7 separate regions of the Homo sapiens genome follow, and all the other regions are linked to region 1. The links are contacts of gene promoters, found by promoter capture Hi-C in blood cells and fetal thymus (Javierre and others, 2016). All regions are on one chromosome and are shown on one strand. Each heading gives the region's core, a stretch centred on a gene start or on the middle of the fragment in contact. The rest is flanking DNA. Distances are from core to core; before and after follow the strand shown. Region 1 holds the start of EFNB2 (ephrin B2). Region 2 has its middle 66 kb from the start of ERCC5. Region 3 has its middle 83 kb from the start of ERCC5. Region 4 has its middle 100 kb from the start of SLC10A2. Region 5 has its middle 80 kb from the start of SLC10A2. Region 6 has its middle 71 kb from the start of SLC10A2. Region 7 has its middle 130 kb from the start of SLC10A2.

Region 1 (3,012 bases), core at 234-2,733:
GGTGCGGCGGGCCCTCAGGGAGAAGCCTAAGGCCCGTCTCCCCGGCGCGGAGGAAAGGGCTCGACGCCCGAGTTCTCCTGCGAAGCAGGCGAGCTCCCCGCGCACCCTCGGGCTGGCGGCGCGGTGCCAAGGCGCCCCGGCTCCAGGGCTCTGCGGGCAGCGTAGCGACTCCAGGCTCCCCTCTCCAGAACGCGCTTCGCTGCCAGCGTCCTGCCACCCCGGTCGCCCGCCCGCGGGCCCCGGACCACGCCGCCCGCGCTCCCCGCGAATGCAGCATCTCCGCCTCTCTCCAGAGCCCACCAGTCCCCGCGTGCCGGCCAGCCTAGATTGTGGCCATGTCCTTCGTCCTCGAAAACAGGAGAGGGTCAGGTATCGCCATCGGACACCTTCCCGGACTTGACACCCGAGCCGATAGTAGCTTTTAGCGCCTGGGAGCGTTCGGGGGAGGAAAGGCGGAGAGACCGTCCGTTCCAGCGGGGCTCGGGTTGGAAAGCCGAGCGAGGAGTCTCCACCTAGTGAAATGGGGCGGGGGTTGGGGGTGGGGGACGGGGAACCGAGGTTCCAGAAACAGGCTCCGAGGCCCCGCGGACTGACCCCTCCTCCCGCCCGGACGGCGCGGCGGACCCCGGGGCGGGGACATAGGGGGATCGCGGACGCCACTTACTTGGAGTTCGAGGAATTCCAATAGATAGGCTCTAAAACTATCGATTTGGAAATCGCAGTTCTGCATAAAACCATCAAAACACCCCAGCAGTACTTCCACACGGAGTCCCTTCTCACAGCCATGGCGAAGCCACTCCCAGCTCCGCGCACTCCGGGCCAAGAAGGGACTGACGGGACGCAGGCTGGGACCCCCAATCCTCCGGGGCAGACTGGCGGGGAAGACGGCGTGCGCCCGCAGGCAGCTCCGAGGCGCGCTGCGCAGCTCCAGCGGTCGCCGGGCCAGGTGCGCTCGCTCTCCGGGGCCCTCAGGGCGCGGGGCGGGAGCGCACGCGCGGGGCGCGGCGGCGCGGCGGACTCGGGGTTCCGGGGCGCCGCGCCGGACGCAGCTCGGACGGCCGACTCCCGTGCGGCTCCAGGGTGCCGGGCCGGCCGCGGCTGGCGGGTGGGCGCGGGGCGGGTGCGGGCTGGGACACAAAGACCCGGAGCGGAGACGACCGGCGCGGGCGGCGGGCGCTGCGCCCCGAGCGGGGCCGCCTGTGACTATAGATCCAGTGCAGCGGGCAGCGGCCCGAGCGCGCGGGCGCCGCGTCGGCGCGGTTCCATGTCCCGGAGCACGGAGCGGAGTAGGGCGCCTCCGGGCGCGCAGGAGCCTTCTCAGTCCGCGCGGCTCCCGGCCCCCAGGGCAGGAAAGAGGGAGCTCGGTCCCCGCCGCGGGCTCCGGACGCGCGCGGGCCTTTGTGTGCGGGGAGGGCGCCGGGACCCGCTGCGTGCGCAGCTCCTCGCTCCGGCCGGCGCCGCGGTCCCCGCCGAGGAGAGTCAGCGCGGCCGCCGCGCTGTCAGAGCGCTATAAACGCGGGGCCCCGCCCCGCCGCGCGAAGCCCATTGGCCCGCGGCTCCGCGGCCGCGCGCTGGTTGGACGGCCGGTCCGTCCGTCCGCCATCCCCTCCCGACATTGGGTGCCGCGAGGCGGGGCTCGGGCTGACAGGTGAGCCCCGCCCCTGGCTCCCGCGGGCGGCGGGAGCGGAGCAGAAGCCGGGCAGGAGAAGCGCTCAGCGCGTGCACAGGGCGCCCCCGGGGCGGCGAGAGGCCTTCTGGGCGCGGTGCAGACGTGGAAACAGCGACGGCCGAGTAGCGGGCCACCTGTCTCCGCGCCCGGGGGCGCCTTCCCCCTCGGCGGAATCAGAGGGCGCGGCTTTCCCTCGAGCAGTGCGGAAGGCAGCAGGCTCCGCTCGGCGTCCCTTCTCCGCAGATGCGGCGCTGCCCCGCGTGCAAGACTTGCACTCCGCGCGCACCCTTAGAGCTCCCGGCTTCTGCGCGCTTCTCCCGACGCCTCTCGGCGAGGGCTTCTCACTTGATTTTGGTACCAATCGCCTACGGCTCAGTTTCAGTCAGTGGGGCCGGGAATTGCAAGACGATTCCTGCGACGCGGCGCCGGAATTTGCAGCTCTAATCAGGGCCTGAGCATCGTCGCCTCCCGCCTTCTCTGCGGGCGTCTCCCTTCCCTCCTGGCCCCCCGGGAAGGTGGCGCCCCTGGAGCTTTCCCCGCGTGTCGCCGGCACAGGCACGACGCGGGGACCGTCTCACTAGCCTCTAGGAGACACGCGCGCTTCCCAAAGTGACCAGAGATTTAGAGGGTGTGAGATGGAAAAGTCAAGGCATGTGCTTCTCACTCGGCGTCTGCAAGACCCCAGAGCAGAGCTGGCAGGAACTCCTCGCTACTTTCCCGGTCGAGCGCCGGTGCTGACGCTCGTCCGTGACTTCCACGGAGCCACAGCGCCCACTAGCGGCCAGCTTTGCTTCTCCGCATCTCGAGCGCTCTGCGGTCCACCGACCCGGATCCAGCATACTGCAGCATCTAATCAAGTCACAGTTCCAAGGAAAATCTTTTTATATGTCCAACAGTAGGAAGAACACGGTAGAAATAAGGCACAGTGCAAATGTACGATTCAGTATGAAAAATTAAAATATACTGTATGCCCACGTTTTTTTTCAATTTAATGCCGTCCACCCCAGGATTTATGTTTCAAACACAAACTGGGCAGTAATTCTACAAATTATGTATTTTTAAAACAAAGTATCCACTACGCTAAATTTAAAAATGCATATGGTAAAACACCTTGTTTTCTTTCACTCTTCTTTGTAACAATTTCTGAAGATTTTTATGGTACGTTGCTTTTAAGTATCCGTTTTTGAAACATTAGTCTAACTTAACGTATACATCTCAGTTGGAGTGGTAAAAGCTTGTGAAGACTAGTTTAAGATAGAAAACACATTAAGGCATACAAAGTACTGAATACACTTACTCTTCCAAACAGATCTTTGAGAGCAGAAAAGTTTCATAATTTATTT
Region 2 (3,012 bases), core at 185-2,684, 3.6 Mb before region 1:
TATTCTGACATATCAATTCCTCAGCAGAGGAATATTTGGAAAACAGGACAAGAATATATAGCTTTTACTTGGGAACAGCATAGATAATAAAATGACTATTAAATGTTTCCTTTTTAAAATGCTTCCTAGGCCAGCACGGTTGCTCACGTCTGTAATCCCAGCAATCTAGGAGGACAACATGGGAGGATCACCTGAGCCGAGGAGCTTCAGGACCAGCCTGGGCAACACAGGGAGACCCTGTCTTCACAAAAAATTTTAAAATATTAGCTGCATGTGGTGGTGCATGCCTGTAGTCCCAACTATTGGGAGGCTGAGGCGGGAGGATGGCTTGAGCCCAGGAGGTCGAGGCAACAGTGAGCTATGATCATGCCACTGCATAGCAGCCTGGGTGACAGAATAGGACCCTGTCTCAAAAAAAAAAAAAAAAGAAAAAAACCAGGAATGTTTAAAAGGCTTCTTGACTTTCCTGTGTTTACATTTGTAACATAAACATTGTTAATACTCATTTTATCCTTAATTTCCTGAGATTTCTGAGAGAAAATACAAAGTAAGGACATAGAATAAAACCTTTGCCAGATCTAGTTAGGAAGCAGTAAACATTTTACTGTCTAGTTTTGATACAGATAAAAAGCCAAATGAAACAGCTTATTGTGCAAAACCGTATTTAAGCTGCTTATAACTTTTAAAAAATACTTTCTCCTTTTGGAGTTGAGTAAAACTCCTGCACAGTAGGGTACTTGTTCACTTTGGTGTAAAATTGAAAAATTTACCAGGTTTTGAGTATTTAAAATGCCTGAGGGAAAGCTTGGGAAGATGTGGTTTTCAGGTGCATTTTGCAGTGGGGAAGTGACTACTAGCATAGCTATGTCCATCCATCTGTCCATGCGGTTGAAAGGTGTGCTCCAGGTGCCAAAGGCAAAATGAATAATGTACAGGCCTGGATCCCCGAGGCCTGCGGCAGAGGAGGCAAATATCTGCAAGGCCGAGGCGGAGGGAGGGGCCGCTGCTAGCTCAGACCTGCCATCTCACATTCCTGTGAAATGTGCTTCACCTTTCCATCATTGTTCTTTGTCTCTGGACCTTGAGTAGTTGCACAGCTTTTTGAGTCAAACTTTAATAAGAAAACCAAATGCACACTCTTGTTCTTAGGTGAGATAAAATCAAGATTGCATTTAAAACCTGGAAGTTAGGAGTGAATGAATGTGGAGCTTTATCACTGAAATGATTTTTCATCCTTAATTCCAAGGTAGCCTTTGCTTTCTCGTTCACCAAAGGCACCGAAAACACAAACTAGACCTTTGAGAAATGATAATATTTTAAGGTCATAGTTTCCTTGATCTCTGTGAGGCTCCTCTGTATTAAAGTATTTTTTGCTATTTTCTGACACAGATCGGAAACATGCCATTTGTTCCTGCCTTTAAGATACAATAGTTCAACATAGTGATGACAATTTTGAGACTATTTTGATGGCCAAGTGTCTCTTTTCTGGAGTTAAAAGTAGAGGTTCTAGTCTTTCAAGAAGCATTTCAACCACTCAGATGTCCTGGCTGGAAACACCTCCATTATTATCAAGTCCATGTTTCCTTTTAGCTTTTGAATTATTTCATCATCAAGGGTTATCAATTTTACCTCCTAAACTTTGCCCTTACAATAGCTATCAAACAGTCTCCTGACTTTATTTTTCTTCTGCTCCAACCCATTTCTCACAGTGTTATTAAAAAAATTATATATATACATATATTTAATTGACAAAGTATATGTTTATCATGTATAGCATGTTTTGAAATATGTATACTTGTGGAACAGCTAAATCAAGATAATTAACATATGCATTCCCGCACATACTTATCAAATTATTGTGATGAGAACACTTAAAATCTACTCTCTCAGCAATTTTCAAGGATACAATACACTATTAGCTACAGTCACCATGTTGTACAATAGATCTCTTGAACTTATTCCTCCTAACTGAAATTTTTCATCCCTTGACCAACAACTTCCATACACTGTCTTTTTAACTTTTTTTAAAGTCTTTTAGTATCATTTGGAAACATTCATTTAGGCAAAGCTTCCAGAAGCACACTCAAGGAATGAATGGGGAACGAAAGGGACACTGCTTTGTGGACCAGGTTAATTACATTGTCTTCCTAGACAATCTGAGCTTGCCACTGTCCTGGTTAAAACTTGTTTGTGGTGCCCTGTTGCCTTAGGTTAGAGTCCAAACCTGTATTCCAGGTAGAACGCAGGCCCTTGGCCAAACGATCACAGGCCAAGCTCTCTTAGTCTCCATCCTTTTTCTTTCCTTCTCCTTCCACCCTCTCTACCTCCTTTCTTCTCCACCCCATCCCATTTCCCTATCAACATGATGCTTAGTGACTTCCTCTCCCTCAAGCCCATTCTTCATCAGAGCCATTCTCTGCTTTGCCATCACTCTCTGAGCCTGGAATACCCATCTCTTTCCCATTTCGGTTCCCTGCTTATCTACAAAGACCCAGCTCAAATGTTCCTCCTCTATAAATTCCCAGAGCAGGCAGCCTCCTGCTCTGTACTCTCCATGATGTAGTCTAGGATGGCTATTTCACATCTCTTTGTCTTTCTTTATGTGTTCTGATCTCTGCCTTTTCAACTAAACTAAACTTTATGAGGCAGAGTCTATGTTTTTCATTTTGTGTACAATTGCCTTGCATTGGGCCTGGCATGTCACAGGTGTCAATAAATGTTTGTCAATTGAATAAATGAAAGTGTGTCACTTTTCTGGCTAATGTCATATATTTTTCATTTTGCTCTAGGTCTCCAGAAAAGAGCATCCATTGAGCTGAGTGGAATGAACTCAGTTAGTTGCTATAAAGTCTATACCTCGTCTAGCCTTTCAGTGATGATTCATTTATCCATTCTTTCATGTAATGCGCAGTTGTTGAGCATTTTCTATCAGGTGTTTTACCAGCCATTGAGAATGAAAAGATATCTAGGCCAGATATCACATCAGCTTGCTTGGAGCCCTTCTAGGAAGGG
Region 3 (3,012 bases), core at 384-2,883, 3.6 Mb before region 1:
CTCCAGGCTCTTTATCTTGGATAATTGCCTCATCCTCTCGGTCTCTTGCTCGATCCAGAAGCCATGAATACTTCTGCTTGCCTGTTCCCCTATCAGGTGCACAGCTCGGCTGAGTCTTCTATTCCTCATCTGTTCCACTCCCTCCTCGGTATTTCCACCCCCAGCATCCTGCTTGGGGCTCTGCCATTTCCCTTCTGGAATATTCCCCTGGCCACCTGGCTGGTTTCGTGGCCTCCATTCCAGCCCCACTCCAGCTTGTCCCCAGATGGGACACCAAGGTGAGGGTTCTCACCCACAAATCTGATAATGTCAGTTCCCTCGGAAAACCCCTGAACAGCTTCCCCTTGCCTTCCAGATGAAATCCGAAATCCTTAACGTGGCACACAAAGTCTTCTGTTATCTGGCCCTTGCCTTTGTATTCTCGATTCTCCTCTTATCACTCCCTTCCTTGAACCCTGGAACCCTCATTGGAACTGTGTACAGCTCCCTGTGTGTCCTGCTCATCTCAGTGAGGAGCTTTGCATGTGTTTAATTTCCTCCTGCAGCACTGGGCTTCCTGCAGGGTTCATTCCTCCTCCTCCTCAACATCCCAACTTGAGGTCACTGCCCTAGGAAATCTTTCTTCTCTGTCTCTGTTTCTACATCAGGTATCATTCCTGTGTGTTCCCATAGCATTTTGTGTCTATCGCACTTGTTTCTTGAATTGTTACTATTGTTGAAAAAATTTAAAAAATCTTAGTCTCCTTAAGCTTTAGTAAGTCTCAGAAATGTGAAACATGCTTAGTTAATGTTTGCTAAAAGAACTCAGACCTTCCATTACATATCCTTGTATATGACTATCAAACACGTCTCTGTTTTCAGGACTTTTTGTTTCTTTGTTTTTTTGAGACAGAGTCTTGCACTGTTGCCTGGGCTGGAGTCCAGTGGCGCGATCTCAGCTCACTGCAACCTCTGCCTCCTGGGTTCACGCGATTCTCCTGCCTCAGCCTCCTGAGTAGCTAGGATTACAAGTGCACACCACCACACCTGGCTAATTTTTTGTATTTTTAGTGGAGATGGGGTTTCACTATGTTGGCAAGACTGGTCTGGAACTCCTGACCTCGTTACCTGCCCACCTTGGCCTCCAGACTTTTGGTTGAGTGTGCTTGTAGAGATCTTATTTTTATGTGGTAGTATTTTAAATATGGGGTTGAAAGGACAAATGACCTCAGTACCTATGTTATCTTTTATTGCATTCCACTAACATTCCCATGTTTCTGTTTTTTGCCTTCTCTCATCTTCATTTAGCATGTCAATATTTTATAAAATAGATGATGATACAGAACTTTCAAATATATATCCCAGGAAATAAACAAGATGGAACCTGGAGTTGGTCATGAAGAATTCTTGAGAGCCAGTATTCTGAGTTTTTCTTCAGTGACCCAATGTTAATCACTTTGAAAGAAGAGAGGCAAAGAAGTCTGTTTTTCATTCCATCTCTTTGCCTGTGTAAATAATTACTATCAGTTTCTAGGCTTTAGGACCAGTGCCATAAAGACATTTTAAGGTTCAATTTCACAGACTCATTTCTGACTATCTCAGGACACCATGGGAATGATCTGTGTACTGTGTTGTTTTCTGGAGTGACTTGGCCATGCAGCCCTTTTGCTATGACACAGCAGCAGAAATCAGGCCTGTTTTATTTAGTGCCTCCTTTTTTCTTCCATTGTTCTCATGTGTTTCAGACCCTCACCACCTGGTGACCGGCTGTAACCCCCTCTCCAGCTTCCTTAGGGGGCAATATCCCTATGAGAATGTGAGTCAGAAACACAGTGGCCACTGGATACAGCACTGCTAGAGACAAGCGAAGATCAAGCAAGCTGAGGTCAGCACAGGTAGACAGGTTCAGCTGGAAAAAGGACTGGGTGAGCTGTGCTTGGAATGAGACTGGCAAGTCTGATCTGGTGCTAGGCGGAATTCTGAACTTAAAAGTTGACAACAGGTGGGAGAAAATTTCAATAGGGCTGGACATACTATGAAGAATACACAGAGAAATTACTGGCTTTGATAAGGATCTCTGCAGATGAGACATTTTATCTAGGGCAATTCAGATATATTAAATTGGCCCTACTCCAGGTAGAGACTTACTGGTCTTAAAGGGCTCTCATCAGTTAAGGAGAAACCACTTCCCTTAAAAGGAAAGGCGTTTCTTCATCTAGCTGTGCTTCTTCAGTAGGTGAACAAGAGGGGGAATGCAAGTGAAGGAGACGGGCACAAAGCCCGACCTCCTTGTGGACTTGGGCTTCTCCGGGGAATGCTTGTTCTCGGGGATGTGGTTGGATTAGCCCTGGGAGGTGGGGAGAGGAGGAGATCGGTGGAGGGCGGTTTTCTTCCTTTTCCCTTTGCTTGGATTTCCCCTTCTGAGACCAAGTCACCATATGGCACCAAAGGGAGAGGTTTGGCCCAGGAACATAGACTTCTCATTTTCCAGTTTGCACAGCTCATCCTGCCCATATAGATCTCTTCTTCACTTTCAAATAAAGCTTCCTGAAATGTAATTTTCATTGTATCAAAGGCCTTTAATGACTTCTTATTGTTAATAAATTGCAAACCCCTTAGGCTGACATTCAAGGATCTTGACTATCTGGCCCCAACCTACCTCATTCTTCCCAAAGCAAACCCTTGACTCTGAAGCAAGTGTACTGGCTGTTTCTTGAAGACACATGCAGTTCCTGTCTTCAGGATTTGTCCATACTACTATCATCCATCTAGAACACCTCTTCACTCTTCTCCATTGATGTGAATTTTTAAACACAACTGCTCAAATCCTACCTTTTCCACTCTTTTTTTTTTTTTATTTTGAGACGGAGTCTCGCTCCATTGCTCAGGCCGGAGTGCAGTGGCGCGATCTTGGCTCGCTGCAAGCTCCGCCTCCTGGGTTCATGCCATTCTCCTGCCTCAGCCTCCCGAGTAGCTGGGACTACAGGCCCCTGCCACCATGCCCGGCTAATATTTGTATTTTTGGTAGAGATG
Region 4 (3,012 bases), core at 174-2,673, 3.6 Mb before region 1:
AATAGCCATGCCCATTACACATGGATTACATGAGATAATGCCTAGGAAGCTCAAACTTCAGTGACCAGAGCAAAGTAGTTATCTACAAAGTGTGTCTTTGCCACTTTTTTCCTTCTGATCATTCACTGGTCCATCCGTCTGTGTACCCCACACCTACTGCCATTTAGATATAAATATAGTGCATAAATCTATCTATCTATCTGTCTGTCTATCTATCTATCCGTTCTCACACTGCTGTGAAGAAATACCTGAGATTGGGTAATTTATAAGGAAAAGAAATTTAATTGGCTCACGGTTCTGCAGGTTGTGCAGGAAGCATGGCAGCATCTACTTCTAGGGAGGCCTCAGGAAACTTACACTCATGGTAGAAGGGAAAGGGGAAGCAGGCAGTTCTTACATGGCAGGGGCAGGAGGAAGTGGGGCAGGGAGATTCCACACACTTTTAAACAACTAGATCTCATGATAACTCACTATCACAAGAACAGCACTCAGGGGAAATCCACCCCCATGATCCAATCACCTCCCACCAGGCCCCACCTCCAAAGCTGGGGATTACAATTCGACATGAGATTTGGGCGGGGACACAGAGCCAAATCATATCAGTCAGTCAATCCATCCATCTACCTACCTACCTACCCACCTACCTACCTACCTACCTTCCTACCTACCTACCTAGTGCATTTATCTTTCTTTCTACCTTGTTTTTCTGTCTTTTGATATCAGTAATGATTTTCTGTCTTCCCATCAAGTATGCCACTACCAGTATCTCCACTCACTCCCCTTTCCACCTACTTAGGTGAAGACATTGAGGGACGTCAAAGAACTTGGGAAGAAGTGTTCCAAACAGCTGAGCTTGCAAGGTATTGAATGCTCTCGGGTTAATATCACGTGTACATTATGTCCAGCTTCATGAGCTTCTATCCTTTTCCACCTAAAAGATGACTGGCACTTCCCAGGACCAATCTGATTTCTTCCAACATGTTCTTATGACACCGATTTGGATCAGATGAGGCCATGCACATTTCTCTCCAGTCGGCTTCCTGGTCCCTGCATACGTTTGTTACAGGGTTGGATACTCCCACAAATCCTGGTGAGGAGGGCGAGACACAGTTAGGTTTTGTTGGAATTTAAGCTTTGAATACAACCCTGATAATGCTGGACTCTCAGTTCTCCCCTCTCTATTGGGATGTGTGGGGAGGGATGAGGAGGGCATGTACCTTGTGCTTATGTTTTCACAGGGATGGCTCTTGAGCCCAAGTGTTTTCAGGTAATTGGTATCAAGGATCCTGACATTGAGAGAATGAAATTTTGATACTGAAACTGATCCTTCAATATGAACTGGAATTATTCCCCGCTGAGCCAAACTGCTCATTTATCTCGTACGTGACAAAAAATCTGCTGTAGCATATGGTTTCACCTTTTATTGAAAAAAAAAAAGAGTCATTTTAATTGCTAGTTAAGACTGCTGGGTTACTTAAATTTGCAGGCTTTTTATTAATGGTGATCTATTTCATTTAAAGCAGCAATAAATGAGATTTGGTGTTAGCCTCCCAATTATTAAATTTCATGGGCACTGTTAGAAGACTCGAGGTCACCCTTTTGAGAGTCTGAGCCATTTACATTTAAGGATTTAGTATACTTGAAGTGAGGGCAGAGTTCTGACACATAGCAGGTTCTTAATACATGTTTGAAAAGTTGAAAAGGTAGATGTGCACAAGCTTGTCTCCATTTCCCTTTGATACTCTTGTTCCCACCGTCTAAGGGTGGGATATACTTTCCCTCCATTGTATCTCTCAAATGGAAACATATGTGGCAACAGTTGCTTAAAATATCTGCTGCAGGTATTGAAAGCTGTACATTTGCTTATTGAGGGTTAATCTGACTAATTTCTTTACTTTTACTTGATGAAGGCAGGCAGGAGGAGGAGCTATTCCAAATATTAATAGCATGGCTATTATGAACAGAGACTGAATGACAGTTTTTAGTTTGTGGAATGGAAGTCTCATTCAACTATCTTAGAAGAGGGACAACATGCTTTGATGGAAAGAATTCTTGAAAACGGTATTTTTTTTTTTGAAATTTAGAAGTAGAACTTTTTGTTTTAAATCAGCTTTTTATTTTAAAATAGCTTTGGACATACAGAAAAGTTGTAACAATGGTATGGAGAATTCCCTTATATCTCTCATCCAATGTCCCCCATTGTAATCATCCTATATCACCATGATACATTTGTCACAAGTAAGAAACAAGCATAGGTACATTATTCTTAATGAAGCTCAATACTATATTCTGATTCCATCAGTTTCTCCCAAATGTCCTTTCTCCATTCCTGGACCCCATCCAGAACACCACTTACATTTAGTTATCATGACTCCTTAGCCTTCTGCGATCTCTGACGGCTTCTTAGACTTTCCTTGTCCTTGATTACCTTGATGGTTTTGAGGAGTGCTGGTCAGAAACCTGTATTCTTGTCTCGATTCTACTCATCATTGAATTGTGACCTTGAGTAAATCACTTATCTCTCTAGATCTCAATGAGTTTACCTGCAAAACGCGAGGCTGGAGATGAAAATATTGTTTAGGTTCCATCGAGTTTTCAAACTCTCATTCCTTTTAATATTACAGGCAGATATCAGAACCTGAAGTGTCATGTTTTTAAAAAAATATTTTTATTAAGATGGGGTGTCACGACATTGCCCAGGCTAGCCTCTACCTCCTGGGCTCAAGCAATCCTCCCACCTCAGCCTCCTGAGTAGCTGGGATTACAGGCACATGCCACCACGCTGAGCTCCATTTTGGTTTTATTTCTAACTTGCTGTTTAACTCTGGCTAGATATTCTAGGTCTCCAAACTATAATTCTGTGAGGAATATTCCAGTGTTTTAGCCTTCAAGTGGTTAATTGGCCATATTAAAAAATATTATGGGAATCTTAAATGTGTTGTATCTACGTGTCTCTTGGTTACTGTAAGAGACAGAACATAGCTTACCTCCTTTTGATGACTCAGACATTAG
Region 5 (3,012 bases), core at 323-2,822, 3.5 Mb before region 1:
CTGAACTATATCTGATGAATACAAAATGATAATTGTCATAATTAGTGTGTTTTATTGCCATCATACATATATAGGAAAGTTGGCAGTGCTTTAATATATCTATTCCATCACTTCAAGTTTTTTTTTTTTTTTTTTTTGAGATGGAGTCTTGCTCTGTCGACCAGGCTGGAGTGCAGTGGCGTGGGGTTTCACCATGTTAGCCAGGATGGCTACCATCTCCTGACCTCGTGATCCGCCTGCCTGGGCCTCCCAAAGTGCTGGGATTACAGGCGTGAGCCACCACGCCGCGCGGCCCACATTTTTTTTTTTTTTTTTTTGAGACAGAGCCTTACTCTGTCGCCAGGCTGGAGTGCAGCGGCGGGATCTCGGCTCACTCCGCCTCCCAGCTTCAAGCGATTCTCCTGCCTCAGCTTCCTGAGTAGCTGGGACTGTAGGCACATGCCACCACACCCGGCTAATTTTTGTATTTTTAATGCAGACAGGCTTTCACCATGTTGGCCAGGATGGTCTCGATTCTTGACCTCACCATCACTTTCAAGTCCAGGCTTTCAAGTCCAGGCTTGCACTAAGCTAGGTTCCTCTGACCGTCGTCCTGCCAACTGACAGTTATCTGGTGAAGTCCCCAAGTGGGGGCTTTGCTGCATCAGAGCCCTGGTTCATTGTTTACGCCCAGCCCAACAGAGACAATCCCAGTTTACACTCTAAACTGGAACTTTGGTTTGCCTCCCTTAAGGAGAAATAGGCTCTGATTTTCCAAAGCAGATGTTCACCTTTAATCCAGGGGCAAATGCTGGATTAGGGAAGGTCAGGCAGTTTAGTCTTTCTGTGCTGAAAGACTGGACCCTCCCTAGTCCAGTCCGAAATTATTCATTAGTGAAACTTAACAAGCATAGATGTTTTGAGTGGAGAGATCTCACTGCTCAATACAGTGACTCCATCAGCATTAAATTAGATAGTCTTTGTAAGAGCACTATGATTATGTGCATCCATCACTGCGGACGATGACTCAGTGTGATGTTGATGCGATACTGTGGCAGCTTCCCTGGCACACAGAAGCCCTGCATTAGATTTCTGGTGTTGTAAGTTACCACGTAGAGGAGTACTTTTCAAGAAACCATATTGTCAAGCCCTATTCTTAGCTAGATTTATATTTCTGGGGCAAGGTTAGAACTGAATCAATTTCCAGAGATTGGAAGAATAATTTAAAAAAAAAATTTTTATTTTAGGTTTAGGGGTACATGTGTAGGTTTGTTGTATAGGTAAACTCATGTTACGAGGATTTGTTATGCAGATTATTTCATTACCCAGGTACTAAGGCTAGTACCCAACAGTTATATTTCCTGATCCTTTCCCTCTTCCCAGCTTCCATCCTCTACTCTCCAATAGGCCTCATTGTGTACTCTTCTCCTGTATACGTCCATGTGTTCTCATCATATAGCTTCTACTTTTAAGTGAGAACATGCAGTATTTGATTTTATGTTCCTACGTTAGTTTGCTAAGGTTAATGGCCTCCATCTCCAACTGTGTTCCTGCAAAGAACATGATCTCATTCTTTTTTAATGGCTGCATAGTATTCCATGGTGTGTATGTACCACATTTTCTTTATCCAACCTACCACAATGGGCATTTTTTAATATTGAGAAAACCTTGGGAAAATGTTCAACAACAAGTAAATTTCCTTTGGACATATTCAATGTTTAAGTAATATTTTTGCCATAAGAGTCTCATAAGGTTGTATAAAAGATTGTAAGAGACTTTGAAATTTAGCGGGTGTCTTGGTCTACTCTCCATCTGAGTTTCTCTGCTTGTATTTGCCTTTGGCTAAGTGTGTTAGTCTGCTCTCACACTGCTGTAAAGAACTGCCTGAGACTGAGTAATTTATAAAGGAAAGAGGTTTAATTGACTGACAGTTGTGCAGGGCGGGGGAGGCCTCAGGAAACTTACAGTCATGGCAGAAGAGGAAGCAAACACATCCTTCTTCACTTGGCAGGAAGGAAAAGAATGAAAGATGAATGAAGGGGGAAGTCCCTTATAAAGCCATCAAATCTTCTGAGAGCTTACTATCATGAGTATAGCATGAGGGAAACTGCCTCCATGATTCATTTATCTCCCACCAGTTGCCTCCTACCACATGTGGGGATTATGGGAACTATAATTCAAGATGAGATTTGAGTGGGCACACAGCCAAACCATATCATACCGTCCCTGGCCCCTCCCAAATCTCATGCCCTCACATTTCAAAACACAATCATGCCTTTCCAACGGTCCCCCAAAGTCTTAGCTTATTCTAGCATTAACCCAAAGTCCAAGTCCAAAATCTCAGCTGAGACAAGACAGGTCCCTTCTGCCTATGAGCCTGTAAAATCAAAAGGAAGTTAGTTACTTCCTAGATACAATGGTGGTACAGGCATTGGGTAAATACACCCTTTCCAGATGGGAGAAATTGGCCAAAACAAAGGGGCTACAGGTCTGATGCAAATCCAAAATCCAATAGGGCAGTCATTAAACCTTAAAGTTCCAAAATGATCTCCTTTGACTCCATGACTCACATCCAGGTCACGCTGATGCAAGAGGGGGGCTCCCGTGACCTTGGAAAGCTCTGCCCCTGTGGCTTTGCAGGGTACAGCCTCCCTCCTGGCTGCTTTCATTGGCTAGTGTTGAGTGTCTTTGGCTTTTCCAGGTGCATGGTGCAAGCTCTTGGAGGATCTTCCATACTGGAGTCTGGAGGACAGTGGCCCTCTTCTCACAACTCCTCTAGGCAGTGCCCCAGTGGGGACTCTGTTAGGGGACTCCAATCCTACATTTCTTTTCCCCACTGCCCTAGCAGAGGTTCTCTATGAGGGCTCTGCCCCTGCAGCAGACTTCTGCCTGGACATCCAGGCATTTCTGTGTATCCGCTGAAATCTAGGCAGAGGTTCCCAAATCTCAATTCTTGACTTCTGCACACATGCAGATAAAACACCATGTGGAAGTTGCCAAGGCTTGGGGTTTGCGCCCTCTGAAGCAATAACC
Region 6 (3,012 bases), core at 190-2,689, 3.4 Mb before region 1:
TACAGCACAATGGATAGACCGATATAAATAATAAACTACAGTCTTGTTTCCAATTTTGAGAAGTACCATGTCTCATCACGATAAACAGTGTTGAGTTTGATGGGAAGAAAAGAGGTGCTCAAAGCAAACTGGCTGAGAGATGATGGCTGAACAGCAACGATGGGGGTAGAAGAACTCTAGAAAGCAGACACACAAGCTACAATTTAATCTCTTTTGTTAATAACAGCTGTCTTCTATTACTTTTTTACAATGGGATTATTAATATTAATTTTTCCAGCAACCCTAAGAGAAAATAGTGACCACAGGTGTGCACGTGTATTTACAGAGGAGAAAGCTGAGCGGTGAAAGGTCACACAACTCCCTGAAATCTGCAGCCATGAGGGAGGGGCAGCAGCGTGGAGCCCTAAAGCCATCTGTCCAGGCACTGAGCGCTTAGCCGCCCACACTCCTAACTGTGCTTCTGTGCTCCTGCTCAACACAGCCTTGACCCTGGTGCAGCAGCGTGGACAAACCACACACTCCTTTTTACGGCAAATGGAGTTTATACTGCTTGTTAGCCCCAGATTGGCTCCCCACGCTCCCCTTTCTTTCTTGCTGGAGGCCTGAGTGATGGCCGCCAGTCTCTTTCCTCTGTAAAGCTCATAGCATCCCCGCAAGCCTTGTCACCACCCCACCTGGTATCTGCAACTTGTTCCCCTGGGGCAAGTGCTCAGTCCCTCTTATTCTAACCTAAGAGCCCTAATCTCCATGGAAACATAGGCAGGGAGGGTCTTGCAAACCAACCCGGGGATCTCCGGAATTTAGGAAGCCTTGGTGTGGTCAGGATACTGGTCTAATGACCATGACCACCTTGCTAAGACTAAGAACTGTTCTCACCTCTTCTGATCGAGGCCACATCTCCGGAATGCCTTTTGTTTCTCAGTGTGTGGGCCTGGAAACTTACTGAGGTTGTGATACCAGGTGGCAGCTAATAGCCTCTTAGGTGCTTACTTGTGGGCAATTGCAAGTTTTAAAACTTTCCTGTGTTCTTGTCTCCCGCTGAAGTATTATATTTGGGTGATTTCCACAAATTTGTTTTTTCTAGTTTAAAAGAGAAATTAGACTCTATTTTTAATGTTCTTTATGAACCCCCTCCATGACAAAACAATAGCCAATAGTGCTTAAAATTTGTAAGAATGATTTAACGTCACTGGGAGAGATCATATGTAAATGTGTTTACACACCCTTGTATAGATTTCATGTCAAACCAAATTCTTCAGCCTGCAAGTTCAACTACAATTTTATTTATTTTTTTTTATTGGGATATTTTTCTTTTTTTTTCTTTTATTATTATTATACTTTAAGTTTTAGGGTACATGTGCACAATGTGCAGGTTAGTTACATGTGTATACATGTGCCATGCTGGTGTGCTGCACCCATTAACTCGTCATTTAGCATTAGGTATATCTCCTGAAGCTATCCCTCCCCCGTCCCCCCACCCCACAACAGTCCCCAGAGTGTGATGTTCCCCTTCCTGTGTCCATGTGTTCTCATTGTTCAATACCCACCTGTGAGTGAGAATATGCGGTGTTTGGTTTTTTGTTCTTGCGATAGTTTACTGAGAATGATGATTTCCAATTTCATCCATGTCCCTACAAAGGACATGAACTCATCATTTTTTATGGCTGCATAGTATTCCATGGTGTATATGTGCCACATTTGCTTAATCCAAATGTCCAACAATGATAGACTGGATCAACTAAAATTTTAAATCAGAGGTCTTTATATGCCTTAGCCAGGTTACGAGGGTTTCAGAATTTAAGGGCAAAATCTCTTACCTCTATAAATGTTGTTTCAATGTATCAAGAATCCCCAAATCATAGTCAGACAGCATTTATCCCTGGTTTATCATTGATTTATTATTTATTAAACACTTCATTATACCAGGCACTGGGGGGCACCCAGAAGTGACTAAAAGAGACCAGGTACCTGGTTTCATTGAGTTTATATTTTAGTTTAGGAAAACACACAACAATATAAAACATAAATTTTAAAAAGGTTAATTTCAGATAGCAAAAAGGGATACGAAGAAAATGGGATGGTGTGATAGAGACCCAACTTACAGCTGAGGGCGACCGGTTCTACCTGAGGCAAAGTGGTTAGGAAAGCTGTTAATTAATGGTGACCTTTAAGTAGAGACCTGAATGGAAAGAGAAGCCAAGCCTGTGAAGACTGGTGTTCCAGCAAGAGGGGTTGCATGTGCAAGGGTCCTGAGGCTGGAATGTGCCTTGTGACTTCAAGAACAGAAGGGCTTATGTGAAAAGTGAAGCATGGTGAGTCCAGGGAATTCTGGAAAACCTGGAGGAGGAGAGGAGGCTGGGTATGGGACCCTGACGTGGAGCTGGATTTTATTCTGTGTGAGGTGGGAAGCCATTGGAGAGTTTTATTCAGGGTACTGACATCACTTGGAAAAGAGTAAAAGATTACTCTGGATCACAGGATGTAAAAGCAGTGGCAGAGAGGCTTGGCAGGTGGCTGGGGATGTCCAGACTACTAGGATGGCCCTTAGACCAGACAGGAAACAGTGGAAATGGGAGAAGTGGGTGAGGTCCGTGTATATTTCAGAAGTAGCACTGATGGGATTTGCTGATGGATTGCAGGCAGGGAGTGAAGAAAACGGAGGGGGTGGTAAGGAAGATTCCCAGGCTTTTGACTTTAACTGTGTGAACGGATGGTGGTGCCATTTACTGAAATGGGGAAGACCCAGTGAGGATTTGAGGTGAAATGACAAACTCTGATTTGCGATTTGAGTGTGAAATTCATATTAAATATCAATGTGAGATCAGAGGAAGAGGGAAGGAGAAATCAACCAAGGGAAGCTGAGAAGGAGCCTTAGGTAAGTGGAATAATGAGAGTGTTGCAGAAACCAATAGAAGAAAGAGCTCCAAGAAGGAAGGAGTGGTCAACTGAATTAGGTACATGTGGAAAGTCGAATACCACAGCTGTGGAAGAGGGTCCAGTGGGGGCTCATTG
Region 7 (3,012 bases), core at 243-2,742, 3.3 Mb before region 1:
ATCTGACAGTCATAATTTTACTCTTATAATGAAAATTACTTTTATTCTATAGTGTTGGTTCACAGTTTGGTGTAAATAACTTGTTCTTTTTCATTTCTACAAATGTAGAAAGGTTGCACTGATGCATCAAGGTTTTCTTGTTGGAAGTCTGAGGACTTTTTCTGCCAAATTTCCTGCATAGGCAGTCTGGCAAACCCTGCATCGTCATGTGCAATGCCCTGGTCCTATCTCTTCCTGCTCCCATTCTTCTGGGCACTTGGACATGCATAGCTTCTATTGCCTCTCCTGGATCCTTCATCCATCACAATCATTTTCCCACTAGGTCTTAGGTTACTGTGTGTGAAGAGAGGCCCAGTGAGACAGAGCCTTCACTCTTCCACATTGGCTCAGAATAAGGCAGGGTTTTGAGGTATTTGTGGGTTTGAGTGAGTGATATTTCCTAAGATGGCTCTGTCTCCTATGAGGCCAAAATTTCTCCAGGAATGTTTTTGTGATCAATCACATCCTGCATCTAATCATCTGATTAGCAACCGTAATTCAATCTGTAGTCCTAATTCCTTATTCATGTAATCTAACACATTCACAGGTTCCAGGGATTAGATGATGAGCATCTTGCAGGGGATAGGAGCATCATTCTACCTACCACATACACATACAGCATTAATAGGCTTTGCCTCTCCAAGCCTTGGCTTAAGTTGAATGATATTACAAAGATGACAGAGACTGGAGTAAGCTGATGACCTAGATGAGCCTTATGGAAGAACAGGTAACCTTGTTGAGACCCAGTAGTTGTCTACTTTCCATTAGAATTCTCCTGGGAGAACTCAGTAATGTAAGACTTAGAGTTTACAATTAACCAGGATGGTCTCATCTTTTGTCGGGTCTGAGATCTTGCCCTGTACCACACCGTGCCCTTCATCCTGCCCTGCTCCCTTGCCTGTAAATGGTAGATAGACTCTTCTTGTCTCTCTACACTTGTTATTCTGTGCAGCTGCACAATGATTTTTTGAGATAAAACACATGTAGGTGGATTTGCTTTTATGTGCTCATCTCATTTTATTCTTTCATATTCATTCCTGTTTCTTATATGCTTGATGACAAAAGTAATAATAGTAAGTAGTTTGTTTGCATTGTAACAACAGTTTCCCAATTGGTTTCTATTGCCTTTACATCCTTCTAGGTTTTCAAATTTGTTTTTTAACCTGTGGCTAGAATGCTCTTTCTAGAATACAAATATGATCAGTATCTGTTCTTCACTTAAAACTTTGCAATAAACCCACATGGCTATAATAATAAAAGACACTTCATGTTTTGGTCTTTGCTTTCTTCATAAATGCACCTGTTTTATTGTTATTTTCAATTCCCTTGAGTGCCAAGCTACCATGCTCTTCATCATATTGCTTTCTCTATCTAAAATGCACTTCCACTATTGTGGCAGCTTTTTCACTCTGTAGATGGGCAAGCGGGAGGGAGTGGCACCCAGTGGCTGCTTCTCTCATTGTTCAGTGAGCAGGAGGGAGTGTTACAGCTCTTTTATTCCCTCCACCTGCAGCTTCGTGAGCAGGAGTACTATAGCTGTTTCATTTCATAGTTCAGCTAGTTCCAGGTTCTTGTGCTGTGACCAAGAGGAATAAGGTATGTGGACACCAGAGAGTGAGTAAGTCAGAGGAGAATTTTATTAAGCAACAGAAAGAAAGTTCTCAGTGTTGAGAGGGGACCCAAAAGCTGGTAGCAATCTGTGAGGCTGAGTCTGGGGTTTTTATGGGCTTAGAATGGAGGAGTGTGTGCTGATTGGTCCATGGGTGGCCTTGGAAAAGGCACCATTAGATTAGTTAAAAGGTATCATTACAGGGAACCAATCAAGAGAGAGTGGGCAAGAAGGGATGGAAGTTCTCACTCCAGTTTTGGACTGTATGGAGAACTGGCAGCTCAGTTTTCAGGCTTTAAACTGTCCTTGGCTTGAAGGTCGGGTTTGACCAGAGACCTGTCCCTGTCTGCCTAGGCATTTGTCTGTCTCCTGTTGCTATCACTATTCCTCCACCCATTTTTGTCTACTTTCTCTTTATTGTTTAGGCCTCCATTTAGAATTTACTTCCACTAAGAAGGGTTATCTGACCCCTAAATCCAGCCAAAGTCCCCTCTATGTGGTAACAGAGCTTTGTGTACTCTCATCAAGGGCTTATCATAGGATATTACTGCCAGATGGTTATTTTTAGGTGTCTGCCTTGTTCATTGTTATAGCTCCAACATGTAATAGAAGCTCTAACTAGTATTTTAAATTGTTGCGTAACTTCCCGTTATCAAATATTTTGGCATGTATGAGTGTGAAACACATTTTTACTGGACTGGAAAACTTAATTTTTTAAATCCTCACAACAATCTATGAGGTAGATTCTCACTTTATTTAATGGATGATGAAGTTGAGGGTTGGAGAGTAAATAATTTACTCTTCACACCATTAAATGGCCCACATTAGGATATGAATTAGTGTTTGTCTACTTTGAATGCTTATGGTTTTAATCACCAACAGTAGCTAGAGCAATCTCTTCAGATCTCATATTAAGTGGAATCATAATGCAGTTTTACTTGGATACAGGGTGTATTAGTTTTATATTGCTGCAGTAACAAGTTACTACAAACACAGTAGGGTAGCTCAAGAGAGTACAACTTTATTATCTTCCAGCAGGCTAGAAGGCCAGTAGGAATCTTACTGAGCTAAAACTAATGTGTGGGCAGGGCTGCATTCCCTCTGGGGAGTTGGGGAGAATTTGTTTCTTTGCTTTTTTCAGCTTTTGGAGGTCACCCACATTTCTTGGTTCATGGCTTTTTGCTCCATCTTCAAAGTTAGCAAGATAACATTTCTGTTTCCCTTGCCACATCTTCAGACTCTCTTTATCTGCCTTTCTATTCCACTTTTAAGGATCCTTGGGATTACCTTGGGCCACCTGGATAATGCAAGATAAGCTCACTATCTTAAGGTCATCTGATTAGCAACCTTAATTCAATCTGAAG

What was found. The method cuts DNA at HindIII sites, captures the fragments that hold promoters and counts their contacts. A CHiCAGO score of 5 or more calls a contact.
Region 2: a contact is called between a fragment that was not itself captured here and the fragment with the promoter of EFNB2 in region 1, in 15 of 17 cell types (total B cells, M2 macrophages, M0 macrophages and 12 more). The highest score is 34.6, in total B cells.
Region 3: a contact is called between a fragment that was not itself captured here and the fragment with the promoter of EFNB2 in region 1, in 10 of 17 cell types (naive B cells, total B cells, naive CD4 T cells and 7 more). The highest score is 20.7, in naive B cells.
Region 4: a fragment that was not itself captured here is called in contact with the fragment with the promoter of EFNB2 in region 1 in 1 of 17 cell types (total B cells); the score reaches 7.3 in total B cells.
Region 5: a contact is called between a fragment that was not itself captured here and the fragment with the promoter of EFNB2 in region 1, in 1 of 17 cell types (naive B cells). The highest score is 7.0, in naive B cells.
Region 6: a fragment that was not itself captured here is called in contact with the fragment with the promoter of EFNB2 in region 1 in 2 of 17 cell types (total B cells and naive B cells); the score reaches 7.2 in total B cells.
Region 7: a fragment that was not itself captured here is called in contact with the fragment with the promoter of EFNB2 in region 1 in 1 of 17 cell types (naive B cells); the score reaches 6.8 in naive B cells.

What each region holds. Positions count from the first base shown.
Region 1 is chr13:106,534,179-106,537,190 of GRCh38, forward strand. It overlaps EFNB2 (ephrin B2), which reads right to left and starts at 1,484. Exons shown (of 5, transcript NM_004093.4): 1 at 665-1,484. The coding sequence starts at 786. RefSeq lists a silencer at 1,272-1,931 and an enhancer at 2,512-2,581. The HindIII fragment of the contact is 2,990 bases long and covers 1-2,901 here.
Region 2 is chr13:102,910,596-102,913,607 of GRCh38, forward strand. No RefSeq gene overlaps it. Among named protein-coding and RNA genes, the nearest start is that of ERCC5, 66 kb to the left of the region's middle. The HindIII fragment of the contact is 1,264 bases long and covers 803-2,066 here.
Region 3 is chr13:102,927,318-102,930,329 of GRCh38, forward strand. No RefSeq gene overlaps it. Among named protein-coding and RNA genes, the nearest start is that of ERCC5, 83 kb to the left of the region's middle. The HindIII fragment of the contact is 1,773 bases long and covers 748-2,520 here.
Region 4 is chr13:102,960,758-102,963,769 of GRCh38, forward strand. No RefSeq gene overlaps it. Among named protein-coding and RNA genes, the nearest start is that of SLC10A2, 100 kb to the right of the region's middle. The HindIII fragment of the contact is 586 bases long and covers 1,131-1,716 here.
Region 5 is chr13:102,984,971-102,987,982 of GRCh38, forward strand. No RefSeq gene overlaps it. Among named protein-coding and RNA genes, the nearest start is that of SLC10A2, 80 kb to the right of the region's middle. The HindIII fragment of the contact is 4,155 bases long and covers 1-3,012 here.
Region 6 is chr13:103,136,077-103,139,088 of GRCh38, forward strand. No RefSeq gene overlaps it. Among named protein-coding and RNA genes, the nearest start is that of SLC10A2, 71 kb to the left of the region's middle. The HindIII fragment of the contact is 6,015 bases long and covers 1-3,012 here.
Region 7 is chr13:103,197,651-103,200,662 of GRCh38, forward strand. No RefSeq gene overlaps it. Among named protein-coding and RNA genes, the nearest start is that of SLC10A2, 130 kb to the left of the region's middle. The HindIII fragment of the contact is 3,739 bases long and covers 1-3,012 here.